Linked DNA regions of Homo sapiens: all the other regions are linked to region 2. The links are contacts of gene promoters, found by promoter capture Hi-C in human tissues and cell types (Jung and others, 2019). All regions are on one chromosome and are shown on one strand. The core of a region is centred on a gene start or on the middle of the fragment in contact, and the rest is flanking DNA. Distances in the headings are between cores, read along the strand shown. Region 1 overlaps SNX30 (sorting nexin family member 30). Region 2 holds the start of GNG10 (G protein subunit gamma 10). Region 3 overlaps SNX30 (sorting nexin family member 30).

The links. The method cuts DNA at HindIII sites, captures the fragments that hold promoters and counts their contacts. A contact is called where the count stands out against the background at its distance.
Region 1: a contact is called between a fragment that was not itself captured here and the fragment with the promoter of GNG10 in region 2, in 1 of the 25 tissues and cell types used here (lymphoblastoid cells).
Region 3: a fragment that was not itself captured here is called in contact with the fragment with the promoter of GNG10 in region 2 in 1 of the 25 tissues and cell types used here (dorsolateral prefrontal cortex).

What each region holds. Positions count from the first base shown.
Region 1 is chr9:112,841,564-112,844,833 of GRCh38, forward strand. The region is part of intron 6 of SNX30 (sorting nexin family member 30); the gene reads left to right. Among named protein-coding and RNA genes, the nearest start is that of SLC46A2, 48 kb to the right of the region's middle. RefSeq lists a silencer at 3,222-3,270. The HindIII fragment of the contact is 3,705 bases long and covers 1-3,270 here.
Region 2 is chr9:111,660,036-111,663,137 of GRCh38, forward strand. GNG10 (G protein subunit gamma 10) reads left to right here and starts at 1,570. Exons shown (of 3, transcript NM_001017998.4): 1 at 1,570-1,680. The coding sequence starts at 1,600. The region is part of intron 1 of DNAJC25-GNG10 (DNAJC25-GNG10 readthrough); the gene reads left to right. RefSeq lists enhancers at 1,151-1,210, 2,281-2,380, 2,581-2,630 and silencers at 1,391-1,840, 1,871-1,990. The HindIII fragment of the contact is 18,619 bases long and covers 1-3,102 here.
Region 3 is chr9:112,777,030-112,780,339 of GRCh38, forward strand. The region is part of intron 1 of SNX30 (sorting nexin family member 30); the gene reads left to right. Among named protein-coding and RNA genes, the nearest start is that of SNX30, 28 kb to the left of the region's middle. The HindIII fragment of the contact is 6,730 bases long and covers 1-3,310 here.

The DNA of each region.
Region 1 (3,270 bases), core at 299-2,798, 1.2 Mb after region 2:
TAGTAGCTGAGCTGAGTCCAATTAATAAGAAACAGGGCCACTGCTCCTCCACTTTTCACCAGGAAAATGTCTCTGCAGAGTGCCCTGGGCACGATAGGAGTGATTGGATGGCAAAGCAAAGACTGTGTCTGGGATTATCAGGGTCTGTGTGGCTGGGACTAAAGACACCAGGAGAATGATAGATGTCTTAAGTGGCTTGCCCACCTTTTCACATTGCTGCTCTGTAAGAATTTTTAAGTATATTTTCTTCCTCCGAGAGAGTCATATAGTTCCATTTCCAAAATGGCTTTCTGATTTTTGAAACTTAAGTAGGGCAGACTTTGCTGTGCAGTATGGAAACTAAGCGTGGAGCAGAGGACTTGCCACAGGCCTGGCTGTGGCCTGTTCTTTATTTTTTGGAGATGGACTCTTGCTCTGTCGCCCAGGCTGGAGTGCAGTGGCACGATCTTGGCTCACTGCAACCTCCACCTCCCGGGTTCAAGTGATTCTCCTGCCTCAGGCTCCCGAGTAGCTGGGATTAGAGGTGCACATCACCACGCCTGGCTAATTTTTGTGTTTTTAATAGACACAGGTTTCACGACGTTGGCCAGGCTGGTCTCAAACTCCTGACCTCAAGTGATCTGCCTGCCCTGGCCTCCCAAAATGCTGGGATTACAGGCGTGAGCCCCCACATCAGGCCTGTGGCCCGTTCTTCATCAGCTGCTGAATGGTCCTCAGAGCTGAGAAAGTCCTGGGTTGGTTTTGGTGAGGAGTTACTGGTGTGGTGAGGTTCTGTCAGTCTATCTTCATCATGGCCTTGAGGGAACCTAATGGTGAGTGTTTGTCCTCATCATTTGGAAGTAGTGGCCTGTGCCTTAGGAATTTGAAATGGTGGATGGCTGGTCCCTCCCTGGATGGGAAAATGCCAGGGAAAAGTCCTGTCCTGATGGAGCTGTGGTGGGGGTTCCTCTCTGAGTTCGAAAGGGCCTTTAGGATCATCTTTCTCATTTGCTCATTGTTGACACGAAGAAACAGACCCTTGTGAGTAAATCTTTTCTCTGTTGCATGGCCACAGGACTATACTCCTTAGTGACCAATCAGCTTGTAGCTGTGTGTTTACTACTTGCCAAGAGGCAAACTAGGTGACTTTAGGCTTTTCAAGCCTGGCCTCCAACTGTATCTCTTTCAGGACAATTGTGGCTAGGTATGTTCTGTTCCCTTTGGAGGTAGAGAGCATAGAAAAATAGGGTCATTATCAAGGCACTCGGAACAAATGGAACAATGTGAGTTTAAGCAGTGAACAATGAGAACAGCTTGTACTAGAAAGACGGTTGAAGGCATGTGTCACAAGGATATGTGTGCGGGGACAGGAAGGTACAAAAGGTTAGTTACCCTTAAGCCCAGACTCAAGTTAAATACCTCGCAGACATCCACAGGTGAGCCCTTACATAGGATTTCACATCCTATAAACTGTGTGTGTATAATGAAATTAGGGTAGTGATGGGTTGAAAGAGGCCCTCTTGAAGTCCTCACCACTTTTCTGGCAGTGCCTTTTGAGTATTAGCATTGTCATGACTAGGCCAAATGTTGGAGAAGCTTTATTCCTGAAGGTTTGGGCAGGACTGTCTTATTTCCCACACTGCCTTATCCATAGAAGGTGGTCAGCAAGCATGTAATTGAATCGGACAATTTGGTAAATTTGCGACACTTACAAATATACAATGATTGCACATTGTACATCTTATTTTTAAGAGGTTTATCTATGTCAATACGCATGCTTATCTCAGGGGTCTTGGTGAATGACTGGGGTGGGGTGAGGGTCTGAAGTAAGAGTAGGTTGTAAGGGAAAGCCACATGGAAAAGGCTGTGGCTGGAGACTTGGAAGACATATGGGAGTGAGCTGCGCAAGGGTCGGAGGATGGAGCATTTTAGGCAGAGGGGAGCAGCCAGTGCAAAGTCCGAAAGCTGAAATGAGCTCAGAGTCTTTGCAGATCAGAAAGGCTGGGGAGTGGAACCTGGTGAGCAAAGGAGTAAGTGGTAAGCGGTGAGGTCAAAGAGAGGTAGGAGCCTGGTCCTGCAGTAGCTTTTTTTTTTTTTTTTTTTAGACAGAGTCTCACTCTGTTGCCCAGGCTGCGTGATCTCAGCTCACTGCAACCTCCACTTCCCGCTTCAAGCGATTCTCCTGCCTTAGCCTCCTGAGTAGCTGGGATTACAGGTGCGCACCACCACGCCCGGCTAATTTTTGTATTTTTAGTAAAGACGGGGTTTCACCATGTTGGTGAGGCTGGTCTCGAACTCCTGACCTCATGATCCACCCACGTTGGCCTCCCAAATGCAGTAGCGTCTTAAAGACCATCTTAAAGGCTGGTAAGAGTCTGGACTTTATTCTAAGGACTAGAAGAGAAGCCATTTGGTTTTATGCAGGGGGATGACAGGATGTGATTTTCACTTTAAGAAGACAACTAGTGCTACAGTATGGAGACTAGATTGTAGAGGATGAGAGTGGTGATTGGGAAGGCCGTTCAGAAGGCTGTCACAGGGAGCCAAGGGCAGAAAACTAGGTGGTGGAGCCTGGACTGCAGTGGTAGAGACGTGGGTGGATTTGGGGTATATTTTGGATGATGGGCCAATGGCACTTGCTGCTGTAGTGATGCAAAATAAGAAAGGAATTGGGGTTTTTGGCTTTAGCAGCTGGGTGGATCGCAGTACTGTTTATTGGGACGGGGAGGGTCCAGGGAGGAACAGGTGGAGCAGTTGGGAGTCCACTATTTTGGGCATGTGGAATTCAGAATGCCTCCTAATCATTAAAGTGGAGATGTCATGGCAGTTGGTTTTGAGTTAGTCTAGAGTGGGAATAGAAATTTGGGAGTCATTAGTGTATGAATGGTGTTTAAATCTCTGAGACCGATGGAGATTGTATGAGGAGATGTGATTGAGGTGCGTAGAGTGTGAAGGCCTGCGCCTGTGGCATGGTAATATTTATTGATCTATCACCTTAAGACGAAAGAACAAGTAGCAAAGGAGCCCACAAAGGAAGGGTTGGTGTGGCAGGAGGGAAGAAGAGGATTGCCTCCACGAAGCCAAGATAAATGTTTTAAGAAGGGGGCAAAATATATCTGTTGGATTTAATAATATAGACATCGTTGGTGATCGAGATTACAAGTGTGAAATGTGGATGCATAAGTTTTGGCTTAAAGACAAAGTTTTTCTTCCAGTTGGAGATAACTTCTACAACATTCCGGGTTAGTCCTTTTCAAAAGCCAATTTAAATTGTCAGGCGGTTTCTTCAGC
Region 2 (3,102 bases), core at 320-2,819:
ATTTTGTCCTATTCATCAGTCTCAGAATTGATTGTTGAATGTTCCCAACATGTACTTTCATCTCTTTACTAAGATATATATTAATTTCTTTGTGGTGAGGAAATTGGCCACTAGAGAGGGCTTTCAAATGTGCAAGTCTCCCTTTGGCCCAGGCACAGCTAATCTGAGCACGTCAATGCCACACATCCTTGCCTTCAAAGAGTAATTGGGCCAGGGGTGGGCCCATGACTTAATACCAGCCAGTGAGGTTCATTATGGGGATTTTTGCTGGAACGATTAGAAAGAAAAGAGGTACTATTTTTCCTGGGTTTGCTAGATGGGGACAGTGAAAGTGTGGTGCCTTCCTTCATACCACTAGAGAAGTCCATCTACCACCAAGGAAAATGAGGCTAATCTCAGGAAAAGCAGAATCAAAACAAGGAGGATGAGAGCCCCAAAATTATTATTTGGGTAATTGAATTCACTAGTTTAAAGTCCCTGGACTTTTCAGTTACACAAGCCAATATATTACCTTTTGCAATATTCAGTTTAAGTGAGTTCTGACAAATACAATGGTGTACAAGAATAATGACGTATTAATGATACATGGAAAAAAGCAACACAAAAATTTTAAATATAGTAACGATCCCAGTTTTGTAAAACACTTATTAAAAAATGCAGTAGGCCTATAATGCCAGCACTTTGGGAGGCTGAGGTGGGAGGATCACCTGAGCCCAGGAGTTCAACACCAGCCTGGCCAACATCGTGAAACCCCGTCTCTACTAAAAATACAAAAATTAGCCGGGCGTGGTGGTGTGTGTCTGTAGTCCCAGCTACTCAGGAGGCTGAGGCAGGAGGATCACCTGAGCCCACGAGGTGGAGGCTACAAGGAGCTGTGATCACGCCACTGCACTCCACCCCGGGTGACAGAGCAAGACCCTGTCTCAAAAAAAAAAAAAAAAAAAAAAAAAGCAGCAGAATAGAAACAATGATGACAGTTAAATGGTGAGATGAGAGTGAGAAACGCTGAATTTAATTTTATTCTGTATGTTTCACAAAGATGTCAGGGTCTGGGATTTTATCCAATTTACCATACTCCACCAAATCAACTGGTAGGATCTCCGTGAAACAGTAACAGGGTCATTTAGAAACCTGTTGCTGCCTCATGAAAATCCTATGAACTCTCCTTGGTTCCCCGGTGATACTGTCTGGCAAGGCCCCTTATCTCTCCAACTCATGTCACACCTTGGCTCCAGTTCTCATTTCTCAGGGGTGCGTGTTTGCTGCCGCCCACTCCATCCTCGCGTCCCACGCCCTCGCGATTCCTGCTCATCCTAGGGGCGCCAGCTTCGCTGGAGGACGCCGCGCTCTGCGGGTCCCCGCCTCGGTTCCAGGCCCAGCTGCAGGTGCCACCCAGGTTTCAGGCGCTGAGGAGCGGAGAGCACTGCCAGCTCGCTGGGGTCCCCGCTGTCTCTGGCAAGCGGCTCCGCGCCGGGTGGGCTGGGGCGGCGGGGCGGGCGCAGCTGCTTCCCCGCCCCGGGGCGGCACCCGCGCTCGGGGCTGGCGGCTCCTCCCCGCCCGGCCGGGCCCAGCAGCCCCTAGGAGCCCAGCGCCGCCGCCATGTCCTCCGGGGCTAGCGCGAGCGCCCTGCAGCGCTTGGTAGAGCAGCTCAAGTTGGAGGCTGGCGTGGAGAGGATCAAGGTGCGGGCCCCGGGTACCCACGCTCCGGTCCTTCCGCCCGCGGGGCGTGAGAAGAGGAGGCCGGCGGCCCGGACCGGGCGCCAGCGGGGGACTCGGTGGCGGCGGCGAGGCCTCGGCGGGGCGCGGGGGCGGTGGGGTCCGCGGTGAGGGAGGGCGCGGGGCAAGCCGGGGGCCCGGGCCTGACGGGAGGAAGCCGCGCCTGGGGGGCCCCGCGGTCGTGGTCGGTCCCGGTCCCTGGGGGTGCGCCCACTCCAGAAGGCGGCCGTGGTCAGTTCCTCGGAGGGCGCAAGGGATGCCGGCGACGCGCGGGCCGGGAGGGTGGACCCAGGGCTGGGGAGGCCACCGCAGGGCGGCGAATTGGTGATGGATTGGTAGGATGAGAGCGAGAGGGAGGAGAGCCAGGATGCTCGGGTTTCTGTCGTCGTGACAGGGTGGACGGCGCTGCCACCCGCCGAGGTAGAGAGGAGGGGGAACAGGTTTGGGGAAATGATGAGTTCGGCTGCGGACCTGGGGACTCCGGGGAGTCATCCGGGAGGTATTTGTCCTCATGGCCTGAAGCTCAGCGCCCAGGGCTGAAAGAGGTCATTCAAGTGCATTGGGGCGAAAAAGCCTCTTCTATGAAGAGCAGAGCTCAGAGCCTGGGACCCGGGGACCAGCCACACCGATGGCCGGTGGCCGAGAGAAGAGGAAATAAGAGACAGCAAGGTTTCCGAGCAAGGCCTAGAGAAGAGGAAATAAGAGACAGCAAGGTTTCCGAGCAAGGAAGTAGGGATTTCCAAAAACTGGGGGCTCAGTCAACATGTCCAGCGTTTAGTCAGTTGGCTAAAAGGCGTCTGTTGTAGAGCTGTGTTTAGCTACGAGTGCAGCATTATTTGCAGAAGATCTGTAAGAAGGAACACAACCAGGATAGTCCCTGTGCCTCAGTTTCTCCTTTGCTGTGTGCCTGGCACTGCTACAGGGAATAGGGTGGTTCTGGAGGGGAAGGTAAACAGCAACTTAACGGATACATAGCATCGCTTCATGTACTAAGTGGAGTGAAGATAATAAACAGGGTAAAGGGAGAGAGGGCTGTGGAATGCAGAGGTCTGGTGGCTTATGTGTTAGTAAAAGCAGAATCTGGACTGTCATAGGGTAGGCAGACGTTTTTTCTTTTTAAAGAAACCTAGTTTTAAAGAGGAAATAACGTGTTTTTTTAACTTAGGAAATGAAAAGCCATGTTTTAGGGTTGAGAGGAAGTAACAAATTATATTTTTAGGTTCCAGGGAAGAAACAAATGGAAGCCAATTGCTGGTAGAGGAGACAGGGCTACGGGGGGGTGGGGGATTGGTGGCACAGCTTCTGAGACAGGAAGAAAGAAGGTAAGGGTGTGTGTAAAGATAAGTTTCTAGATATGGGCTAAACTTGTATGGTGACACTTTTCTT
Region 3 (3,310 bases), core at 148-2,647, 1.1 Mb after region 2:
TCCAGACCCTATATAGCAAATCCCATGTCTTCCCAGATTTAGCATTTCCCACTGACCTTTTAGGTTTTGGTTCCTCAATTCTGGCTAAATCTGATTTTTCTGTAAATTTGATCCTGTTTGCTGTATCTCTTCCAGAAATTCCTCAAAATTTCTTATTGATTGATGGCATCCGTTCCTGTTTTCTGGCTTTTTAATGGGTTTATTTTTATTTTTATATTCCTTTTGTCATTCCCTTGGAACTTGGAGTGACACAAGAATCAAACACTTGAGCTCAGCCCGTCACCATTGTGGACTCAGTGTATCTCATTACTTTTCACTGGCGGGATTCTGTAACACCCTCTTTAACCAGTTTCCTAGTTTGTTCGTCTTCCATATAATCTTTTTAAAGATATTTATTTATTTATTTATTTATTTAGAGACAGAGTCTTGCTCTGTTGCTCAGGCTGGAGTGCAGTGGTGCAGTCATGGCTCACTGCAGCCTCAAACTCCTGGGATCAAGCAGTCATCCCACCTCAGTTTCCAGAGTAGCTGGGACTACAGGTGCATACCACCACACCCAGCTAGTTTTTAATTTTTTTTTTTTTTTTTTTTTTTTTTTTGTGGAGATGGGTCTCACTATGTTGCCCAGACTGGTCTTAATACTCCTAGCCTCAAGTGATCCTCCCGCCTCAACCTCCCAAAGCTTTGGGATTACAGGTGTGAGCCACCACACTTGGCCTCCATGTAATCTTAATAGTATTAACAGCAACAGCTTTTAAACTGAGTGGTTGCTATGTGCCACGCATTGTATCATACCCAATTTAATTGTTCCTTTATCTTTTACCCCTCATTTGCTAGGCAGACATTGTTTTGGTTATGTACTATTGCTTAACCACCCCAAAACTAAGTAGGTTAAAACACAAATGTACTGTGATCTTTTAGGGTTCTGTGGGTTGACTACCCTCAAGTATGTGTTTTTTGCTCTAGGTGTCTCTTGTATTTGGAGTCAGAAGTTGGCTGGGGCTGCAGTCAACTGGAGGTTCATTGGACTGGTTGCCTAAGGTGACTCACTTGTGGCCACAGTTGACTGGAGTGCCTATGTGTGACATCACCATGTGGCTTGGGCTACTCAAAGTGTTGTGGATGGGTACCTGGAGGGCATGTCCCAAGAATGAGCATTCTAAGAGTCAGGGAAGTGGAAATTGCTGGGCCATATAAGGGCTATGCCTGAAATTGGCACAGGATCAGTTTGGCCATATTCCTTTTTTTTTTTTTTTTTTTTGAGATGGAGTCTTGCTCTGTCACCCGGGCTGGAGTACAGTGGTGCGATCCCGGCTCACTGCAACCTACGCCTCCCGGGTTCAAGTGATTCTCCTGCCTCAGCCTCTCGAGTAGCTGGGATTTCGGGCACCTGCCACCAGCCCAGCACATTTTTGTATTTTTAGTAGAGAGGGGGTTTCGCCATGTTGGCCAGGCTGGTCGCGAACTCCTGACCTTAGGTGATCCGCCAGCCTCGGCCTCCCAAAATGCTGGGATTATAGGCGTGAGCCACTGCGCCCGGCCCGGCCATATTCTTTTGGTCAAAATAGTCAGAGGGTCTACCCAGATTCACCAGGATGGGTTGATAGACATCATCTCTTGATGGGGAAGTGGCCAGGTCACATGACAGATAAGCATGTAAGACCAGAGATATAGTTAGGACCTTCCTTTGAAAAATACCAACTGCCACAGATACCATGCTGGAGATAGAATAACAGCTACCAGGTCCATGCTTTCTCACACCTTATGGTTCAGTGCCAGAGGCAGGTGGATGAACAGGCAATGACAGCACAGATCATAAGTGTTATGAAAGAGCTAGGTACAGGGGCATGATGAGAGAACTTGGGGGGGGGGGATTTGCACAGCCCAGACTGGGCAAGTACTGGTGGGTGGGGAAGTTGGTTGAGAAAGAACACATCTTAGAGGAGGTATCTTTGGAGCTGAGTCTTGAAGCACAAATGGGCATTAGCTAGGTGAGTAAGGCATCCCATACAAAGTGCTCGTGGCACTTGGGGGAATTACTGATGGTCTGAGGATTGGCAGGGAATTGGGTGCTGCTGGCACGTGTGATGTGAGGTGGCGAAAGTGTGTTCTCCCTTTAGATTCTCTTCATCTGTGGCCTTGCCTGTGAGGGCTCTAGCTGGTCCTGTATGCAATGTATTAGCGGGACATTTAGGTGTCTCCTTAGGAGGTGACGGATAGACTGTGTGAGTGGGAAGAGAAGAGTGAGCCTCATTAGCTTCACTGTGGTGAGCTTTTTGTGGATTCTCTTCACTCTCCATCATTCATTTCTCCTTCTGTTTCATATTCTCTTTTTTTCCTTCCCGGTCTGTTGCTCAAGTGAACACATAGAAGAGGGTTATGTTGGACCAGGCATGGTGGCGCATGCCTGTAATCCCAGCACTTTGGGAGGCTGAGGTGGGCAGATCACTTGAGGTCAGGAGTTTGAGACCAGCTGGCCAACATGGTGAAACCCGTCTCTACTAAAAATACAAAAATTAGCTAGGCATCGTGGGAGGTGCCTGTAGTCCCAGCTACTTAAGAGGCTGAGGCAGGAGAATTGCTTGAACCTGGGAGGCGGAGGTTGCAATGAGCCAAGATCGCGCCACTGCACCCTAGCCTGGGTGACACAGTGAGACTCTGTCTCAAAAAACAAACCAAAAAGAGAGCTGCATTCATTGCTGAAGGGTGAGGGCAGGTGAGGGAAGGGAGCTGGTGTTGGAGGAGCTACTCCATGCAGGGCGCACTTGGCTGAGTGCTCCACTAGTTTTCTCTCATTCATACTGTACGAGAGAGGCACTTTATCCCTATTTTACACGTGACGAAATGGGAGCTCTGAGGGGACGTGGGGAATCTCTCAGCTGGTGAGGAGCAACGACAGGCTGTCACTGTACCCCACCAATGCTTTTGACATGTGCTCATCTCAGGATATGTGTGCAAGGGTGAGGATCTTGGCCTAGGACGGGGCTGACTGCTGTTAGACTAGGGTGTACTCAGATTCCAGTCTGCAACTGTGGGGACCAACGTGCTGCTTCTACCTTTTGGAGGAGGCACCTGCTGTTCTTCTAAGCAGTGAGCTTTGTTCTGGTGCCACTGCTGGGGTGCGTGTTTTTGTGGCCATGCATACATGTCTGTATTTTTCTGTTTAAACATGTACATGTATGTATATGAGCAGGCAGAATTGGGGTGAGAGGGCAAACCCAATCACAGCCAAAAGTCCCTTGGTTAAAAAGGGCATGAACAGAGTTTTGGAGATTGTTTCCTTCAACATTGTGAATGTATTTAACACTAG